Linked DNA regions of Homo sapiens: regions 1 and 2 are each linked to region 3. The links are contacts of gene promoters, found by promoter capture Hi-C in blood cells and fetal thymus (Javierre and others, 2016). All regions are on one chromosome and are shown on one strand. The core of a region is centred on a gene start or on the middle of the fragment in contact, and the rest is flanking DNA. Distances in the headings are between cores, read along the strand shown.

Region 1 (2,700 bases), core at 16-2,515, 3.2 Mb before region 3:
TGCATCTATCAACCCATCATCTAGGTACTAAGTCCAGCATGCATTAACTATTTTTCCTGGTGCTCTCCCTTCCCCCACTCCCCCTGACAGGCCCCAGTGAGAAAGTAGATTCTTAATGTTGAAATTTTAGGTGTGGGACAAGGGGACTATAAAGATAAACAGAAATGGATGTAGATACAGAGTTTCCTGTACTCTCAGATGAGACGACTGCATAAACAGCTTTACTTAAGCAGATTCATGGTGCTGGGACTGTTCAAAAAGTGTTGCATGCTATGTAGTGCGAAGTTGAAGGATTCTAGCAGCATTAAAGAAAATGTTAATTTATTTGGTTCCATCTCATCCTAGTCAATAAGTCAACACATACAAATTGTTCCCCTTTTTGATTGCCTAGAAGTAAGCACTTTTATCTATTCAGTTTTTAGATTCCTATGCATTGCTTTCAAATCAATTGCATGAATGGAAAACTCTTCTCATTAATCACATTCCTCTCCACGCCAGCGAAGTCTCCTCAAGTCAGAGCACATCTACACATCGTCCACCAGATGGCGGTGGAAGCCCACCGACATTGTAGACTACGTAGGAAGAGCGTCCAGATGGAAAAGCGGGTTGGGGCTTTCTGGTCTGGTTTTTTTGTTTTGGGTTTTTGTTTGTTTGTTTTTGTTTTTTGTTTGTTCGTTTGTTTAAGACGGAGTTTCGCTCTGTCGCCCAGGCTGGAGTGCAGCAGCGCGATCCTGGCTCACTGCAACTTCCGCTTCCCGGGTTCAAGCGATTCTCCTGCCTCAGCCTCCCAAGCCCTGGGACTACAGGCGCAGGCCACCACTACGGGCTAATTTTTGTATTTTTAGTAGAGACGGGGTTTCATCATATTGGCCAGGTTGGTCTCAGACTCCTGACCTTGTGATCCGCCCACCTCGGCCTCCTAAAGTGCTGGGATTACAGGCGTGAGCCACTGCGCCCCGCTTCTGGTCTGTTTGTAAAACTAATCATTTCGGGAGGCTGAGGCAGGAGAATTGCTTGAACCGGGGAGGCGGAGGTTGCAGTGAGCTGAGATTGCGCCATTGCACTCCAGCCTGGTGACAGAGCGAGACTCCATCTCAAAACAAAAACAAAAACAAAATTAAGCATTAAAACGAAGAGGACTGTTGGATTTTAGAGCCTCAGATACGGGGCTTTTTTTAAAAGTCCATTTTTTTTTAAATTGTTAGAAAGATATGGCAATGACAAAGTAATATAAGTGATCTAATTAGATTATATTTTTTCTTGTTTTAAATTCTGGGTAATCTGTCCATTGAAGCTACTTGGCTGGGGAAGCAATTGAAAGTGTCATTCCTCAGTATGCTTGAAATCTCTCATACCCTTCATGCCCAACTAAGATATATAAGAGAAAATCCTGTTAGTGGCCATCAGCAGCTGCTGGAGAATGCACCTTTATATCCAGATTCTGGAATCTTTCAGGCAACCCTGCCTTCTTCCTCTTTGACTTCTATTTCTCATTCAACTCACCAGATTATTGGGATAATCATGTGTGTGGAGAAGATTCTCAATCTCTTTGAGTTTCAGATTTCTCATCTGCAGAATTAAAGTGTGTACTTTTTTGAGGAAATAATACATGAACATACATAGAACAATGCCTGGCACAGCCTAAATGCTCCAGAAATGGGAACTATTATTTTTTCCTCAGACTTTTACCTTATTTTGAAAGTAAGCAGGCTGGGCACGGTGGCTCATGCCTATAATCTCAGCACTTTGGGAGGCCGAGGCAGGTGGATCACCTGAGGTCGGGAGTTCGAGACCAGCCTGACCAACATGCAGAAACCCCATCTCTACTTGTGGGCGGAAAGCCACCCAGGTGCTGAGGCAAGAGACTGAAGGCACAAGCTGTTCCAGTATAATAAAAGAAAATAATTAGAATACAAAAAGTTATACTAAAAATAAGATATAGACATGATTATATATGAATATTATCAATCTTTAGTTGGTAGTGTTGCTCTTTTAGTATTATAATAATCTCTGTTTTATAATCATAACCTAGAAAACACCAGGCCATACAGAGTCAGGAGCTGAAGGGACATGGTGAGAAGTAACCAAAGGACAAGAGTGTGAGCCCTCTGTCACGCCCGGATAAGGGCCGCTTGAGGGTTCCTTGGTCTAGCGGTAAGGTCAGTGCCTGGGAAAGCACCCATTACTTGGCAGACCTTGGTCTAGCGGTAGGGCCAGTGCCTGGGAAGGCACCCGTTACTCGGCAGACCTTGGTCTAGCGGTAGCGCCAGTGCCTGGGAAGGCACCCGTTACTTAGCAGACCGGGAAAGCGAGTCTCCCTTTCCCCGGGGGGAGTTAGAGAACACTGCTCCACCAACTCTTGTGGGAGTCCTGACATTAGCCAGGCCTGCCCGCAGTCATCTGGAGGCTTAAACATCTGTGGTGCTGTGCTTCAGTGGTCATGCTCCTTGTCCACTTTCATGTTCTGCCTGTACACCTGGCACCTCCTTTTAAGTTCTTAAAAGATAGCAGTAACAAAATTAGTGAAAGTACTAAAGTCTTTGATCTTCCTGATAAGTGCACAGAAGAAATGCTGACATATACTGTCCTCCCTCTCTGCTTCAGCTATCACAAAGGGAAAGGCCCCCCGTCACGTGGACACGTGACTTGCTTGACCTTATTAATCATTTGAGATGACTCAAACTCCTTACCCTGCCCCCT
Region 2 (2,700 bases), core at 38-2,537, 4.0 Mb before region 3:
TTGAAACTATTTTTTGTACAACTTACTTGTACCTTCAAGATCTACTTGAGCTTGATCTTATGCACAACGCTTTCATTTGATGATAGAATGCTGCTGTAGACACCCACGTTTATTGGATGATAGATTAGACAATGCCAAATTGTCAAATGATGGGTAGTTCAAGTTTCATGGTAGCTTGTTGCCCACGGTCAATAGTTTCATCTCTACTAAGGTTCAGTGGCAAGCCTAGAGTCATTTGTCAATGACTGCCTGTGAAATAATCTCAGTGGCAAGCCTGGAGATTATTTCTTGACAGAGGATGACATAGGTTTGCGCCAAAGCTCTAAGGCTCTGTGCTACAGTGGCTTGTCAAAAGCTTCATAAAGCATGCCTATCTACCACAGACGTTACAAGTAATACTGGATCTACTAAGTTGTATGGCCCAAGTGGCAGAGCAGTTTGCTATTGAAGAACCTTTGCTTATTCAGGATCCCAATCAAAACTAGCAGCTTATTGGATTGCTCAGCAAATACATCAAAATGGTATGACCAAATGAAGTATATGTTGCAAGTGGTCCATCCATTGAGCATTGTGCAGCAAATATCCTTTATTTTGAAAGAGCTTTCTATGTATTACAGATCACTTAACCCCTAGACATTTCCCTGAGGAGACCCTGACATTTTATTGTGCTTATTTTTCCATCCTCTGGCATGCATTTGTCCTAACAATATATCTACTGTAGTTGCTACTTAGATCACTGTCTAATGAGCATATTATCAATGCAATGTCATAGTGTGATATTCTGTGAATGAGAAGGCAATCAAAGTTCCTGCAAATCAGATTATGACATAGAGCTGGGGAATTGATATAATTCTGAAATGGAGGTGTGTTGCTGACTCTGCCAGTTGAAAGCAAACTTCTTCTGATGATCTTTACCATAGGCATAAGTAGAAACAGCATTTGCCAGAACAGCTAACAGGTGCCACGAGATGTGTTGATGTGCTCCAGCGACAAAACCACAAGTGGAATAGCAGCAGCAGTTGGAGTCACCACATGATTAAATTTACAATAATCCACTGTTGTTCTCCAAGGTCCATCTTTCTTTTGCAAGGGCCAAGTTAATTGAGCGAAATGTGGCAGAAATCACTACTCAGCATCTTTCAAGTCTTTGATAGCACATCAGCCACTGAAGTCACTTTAGATTTATTATTTCTGTAGGTAAAAGCAGTTCTACTGGTTACACTTAGACTTTCCTGCCATAAAAGCCCTCATAATATGGGTCAGGAAACCAATATGGTGATTTTTCCATTTGCTGAGTACATTTATCCCAATTGTACATTCTAGAACTCAGTGATCTCACTACCTCTGGAAGGAGAACTAAAATTAGAATAGTGATAATGGGAAACTCGTTCCATATGTGTCTCTAATATTTGAATAAATTAATTATTTTACATTGGGCAGGTTCCTATGTTTTACTTGCATAATTTTATTTCTTATTTTCATTATTTATTTGTTTATTCATTTATTTTTAGAGATGGAGTTTCTCTCTTGTTGCCCAGGCTGGAGTGCAATGGCACGATCTCGGCTCACTGCAACGTCCGCCACTCGGGTTCAAGCCATTCTCCTGCCTCAGCCTTGCAAGTAGCTGGGATTAGAGGCATACACCACCATGCCCAGCTAATTTTGTATTTTTTAGTAAAGATGGGGTTTCATCATGTTAGTCAGGCTGGGTTCGAACTGCTGACCTCAGGTGAGGAGGCCTCCCAAAGTGCTGGGATTACAGGCATGAGCCACCGTGCCCAGCCATTACTTGCATATAATTTTAAAAACAACCTTCAAAATGTAAAATAACTACAACAATAACACCAAACCCCACAATATTGCATTAGAAAGAGTTTTTATTTAGATCATGAGACATAATAGTGCTTCGTACTCATGCTTATACAGAACCTAGCGCGAAAGAACATAATTCAAGACACTGTCAACCAAACTGCAAAATGTCTTCATAAATAAAAATCCAGGTTAATATTAGTATTATTATCCTACAAAAAACAAAGCTACTAATTTCCTCTCCAACACATATTTAAATAAACAGAAATCAACAATATTTGTAGCCTTTGTAATTCTAGTTTGTTTAGAATTTAGTTAAAAACTTATTTGTGGAGCTCTCCCTCTCTTTTGGCTGGCAGAACCATTTCTGACTTCAAGGCTTTTTATTAAAATATTCTACAATGAACACAGAAAGCTTGGTAGATACCATCTTTACACTTTTTTCTTCTTTGAATATATATTTGCTTGTGCACAGTAAGAATTATTAACATTTGCTTTTATATGTAGCTTAAGATGACAGCTCTACTGCATATTATATTGTAAACTGTGTTTCTCTCAACATTTTTCCTTCTTCATCTATAAATAGAAAACCACTGAATGATTGATTATATGTTTATTTAAGGGCATGCTCTAATGCCCACTGCTATATTCATTATTTCTTTGGTTTTCAGTTACAGAGTTTATGTTATGTTTAAATAGAACATTTTTCTGTAGGAATTGTGGGTTAGGACATGGATGATAACAGATATGCATATCTTACTCATGAAAGGTCTCTTTTATACGTGGCTTATAGAATATTACAAACTCATGTTGAAAAATATTTCAAAGCTTAAGAGGTTAAAAAATAATAATGAATTGGTTCCTGGAGCAAACTTACTTTTTGGAAAGTGA
Region 3 (2,700 bases), core at 83-2,582:
CTAGTTTAGGATAACTTATATGCTATTTCACAATTGCAAGATAAATTCTCCATTATTTTCCTAAATTGAGATATTACTTCTGGAATGTACAGTTTAAAAAGAACTAAGAAGACTGAAACTCTTAAAGGATGGTTAAATTCGATTATAGGAGAAAACCTAAAAAAAAAAAGCTAACTGGATCTTTTAAAATTTAGAAGAGCTCTAATACTTATTCATTGAAAGTCAACACCCTTTCTTATCTTAGTATTAATCAGAAAAAATTATTTTAGACAACAGCATCATATATATTTAAGTGAGATGCAAAGAGTTTTTTCCAAGTGTTCATCTGTCCACGTCTACCAGACAATTCACCTGTTGACCGACTTCTAATAGGTGAAAGATTAATCTCCAAATAAGTTTTTAAAGACCCCAGATGCTCTGTGATAATTATATACATACATACATACACACAGATATACGTACATACACACATATACATACATATACATTGTGCTACTATATGTACGGACGCAATATATATACATAAAACTCGGTGTTCTCAGTAAAGTATGAGCCATTATTCATTTAAATACTAGATATTTTTCCTTTTTTTTTAAACAAGGAGTATTTTTTGAACCTAAACCTGAACCTCTAAATAGTTCGGATAACAAAGTTTTGGAATCATGAACTCAACATTGTTAACAAACCATCCAGTCCAAATAAACAAAGGAAACCCACATCTCATTTGCCAAGATTCTAAGAACCATAATCCTGTCACCAAATGACAATGGAGACTTGATCCTTTCTCAGTCCTAAATACAAACAGCAAAGCCCTCTTTGGTCCTCATACCTACTCGAAATTGCAAAGCAAGGCCTGGGAAAAACGGTGAAGAGGCACCACTTACTACAAGCAGTCCGAGTAGCTGTGACTGCGACCACCCCAATCCTGGTTCCAAACAGCATCCTTCCCGGTTCTCTTCTTAAGGAGCAGAGTCTTTCGTCCCTTCGCCCCAAATCGCTCAAGTCATTCCTAGGAAATCCCGAGAAACACTTCACCTCACCTGTCAAATTGCACAAAATCCACTTTCGAATTTCTCCCGCGAAACAACGTGACGTCATTAACGCGGGACCTCACCAGATGAGGACCCAAAACTTGGCCCGCCCACCTCCGCCTAAGCCAAAAACCGCCGCTTTCAAATCGCCAATCAAATTCTTCCTTGGCTTCGAGTCTCTCAGCCGGCCGCGCTCTCCGATGCCCAGCCCTCCTGGAACCACCTCGCCTGTGACGTAGGTGGAGCGCGCACTGCCTCCGGGCCCGTCTTTCTCAATTGGGACCGGAAAACGTTGTCGCTCATCCTATGACGCGAAAGTAACCGAGACTATCAGGATCCGGAGACGGAAATGTCCGAAGGCCGCAGTACTTGACCCTGTATTTTGGGAGTCGAACGGAGTAAGTTACAAGCGGCCTATAGGGTCGCACAGCTTGGGCGAAGTCTAATTAACTCTCCGTCCTTTTTCTTGCGGTCCACTCTATCATCTATCGTCCTTCTTACCCCGCCCCCCCGTCCTGCACACCCATCAGTTCCTTGGCCTAGTTATCTATGCGCACGCGCAAAAGTCTTCGGCAGCACTTGTAGTTCCCGTTTTCAGACAGTAAGGGCGCATAGGGGCCCGGCGTGGGGAGGTTTGGGGCGCGCCCGGCCTATGACGGCGTCCTTGCGGAAGTACGGGTGCCGAGAGAAGCAGTAGTCAATAAAGAGAGTGCCGTATTTCGCAGATTGGAGCTGAGCTGTGGCTGCCAGAAGATAGCGAACGTGAGGATTTATATTCTAAAATTATCATCTTCTTTTGCAGGACTCTGCCATCGTCCTCAAAGAGTAAAAAATCCAGTTACGGAAGGGAACTAACACTTGCTAGATATGGTGTGCAGAGTGCGTTTGCAAAGAAACTTAAGAGAAAACAAATGATAGGACACAGGGTGGTGGAAGATCTCAAAGAGTAAGATGCCATTTAACCTGGGCCTTGAAAATTTAATAAGGAAATTTAGACGAGAAGATTCAGACAAAGCAGAACACACAGGCCACTACGTGTTGAGGGACTTGAGTTGTAAGCAGTGACCAGAACAATGATTCTTAACCTGTTGTGGCACACTTCTTTTGAAAACTTAATTATATGGATTAGCTTCTCAGGAAAACGTGCATGTACCTATTAAAACATTTTGCGAGGCTGGGCACGGTGGCTCACGCCTGTAATCCCAGCACTTTGGGAGGCCGACGCGGGAGGATCACTTGAGGTCAGGAGTTCGAGACCAGCCTGGCCAATATGGCAAAATCTCGTCTCTACTAAAAACACAAAAATTAGCGGGGAGTGGTGGTGCACACCTGTAGTCCCAGCTACTCAAGAGGCTTGGTTGGGAGAATCGCTTGAACTCGGGAAGCAGAGATTACAGTGAGCCGGGATCGCGCCACTGCACTGCAGCCTGGGCCACTGAGAGAGGCTGCGTCTCCAAACAAACATTTTTCATATAATTTCCTCAGGAGAAATTACGAAATACTTTTAAATAGCAAACACACACAAATGACTTGGTGTCTTGTCTGACTCACTCTTCCAAGTTATCTATGTCTTTCGTGGTCTTTGAACTATTTTTCAACCCTGTAACTCGCTACAGCAACATGGAAATTAGGTTTGTCCAGTAAAGATGCAATTAATTATTGTCCTGAG

Evidence for each region. The method cuts DNA at HindIII sites, captures the fragments that hold promoters and counts their contacts. A CHiCAGO score of 5 or more calls a contact.
Region 1: a fragment that was not itself captured here is called in contact with the fragment with the promoter of LARP7 in region 3 in 1 of 17 cell types (neutrophils); the score reaches 6.3 in neutrophils.
Region 2: a fragment that was not itself captured here is called in contact with the fragment with the promoter of LARP7 in region 3 in 1 of 17 cell types (neutrophils); the score reaches 5.5 in neutrophils.

What each region holds. Positions count from the first base shown.
Region 1 is chr4:109,422,042-109,424,741 of GRCh38, forward strand. No RefSeq gene overlaps it. Among named protein-coding and RNA genes, the nearest start is that of SEC24B, 10 kb to the right of the region's middle. The HindIII fragment of the contact is 4,993 bases long and covers 1-2,700 here.
Region 2 is chr4:108,645,920-108,648,619 of GRCh38, forward strand. No RefSeq gene overlaps it. Among named protein-coding and RNA genes, the nearest start is that of OSTC, 3.3 kb to the right of the region's middle. The HindIII fragment of the contact is 1,869 bases long and covers 354-2,222 here.
Region 3 is chr4:112,635,811-112,638,510 of GRCh38, forward strand. LARP7 (La ribonucleoprotein 7, transcriptional regulator) reads left to right here and starts at 1,333. Exons shown (of 13, transcript NM_016648.4): 1 at 1,333-1,429. It overlaps ZGRF1 (zinc finger GRF-type containing 1), which reads right to left and starts at 1,099. Exons shown (of 28, transcript NM_018392.5): 1 at 1,041-1,099. RefSeq lists enhancers at 896-1,115, 1,686-1,735, 1,776-1,885. The HindIII fragment of the contact is 18,676 bases long and covers 1-2,700 here.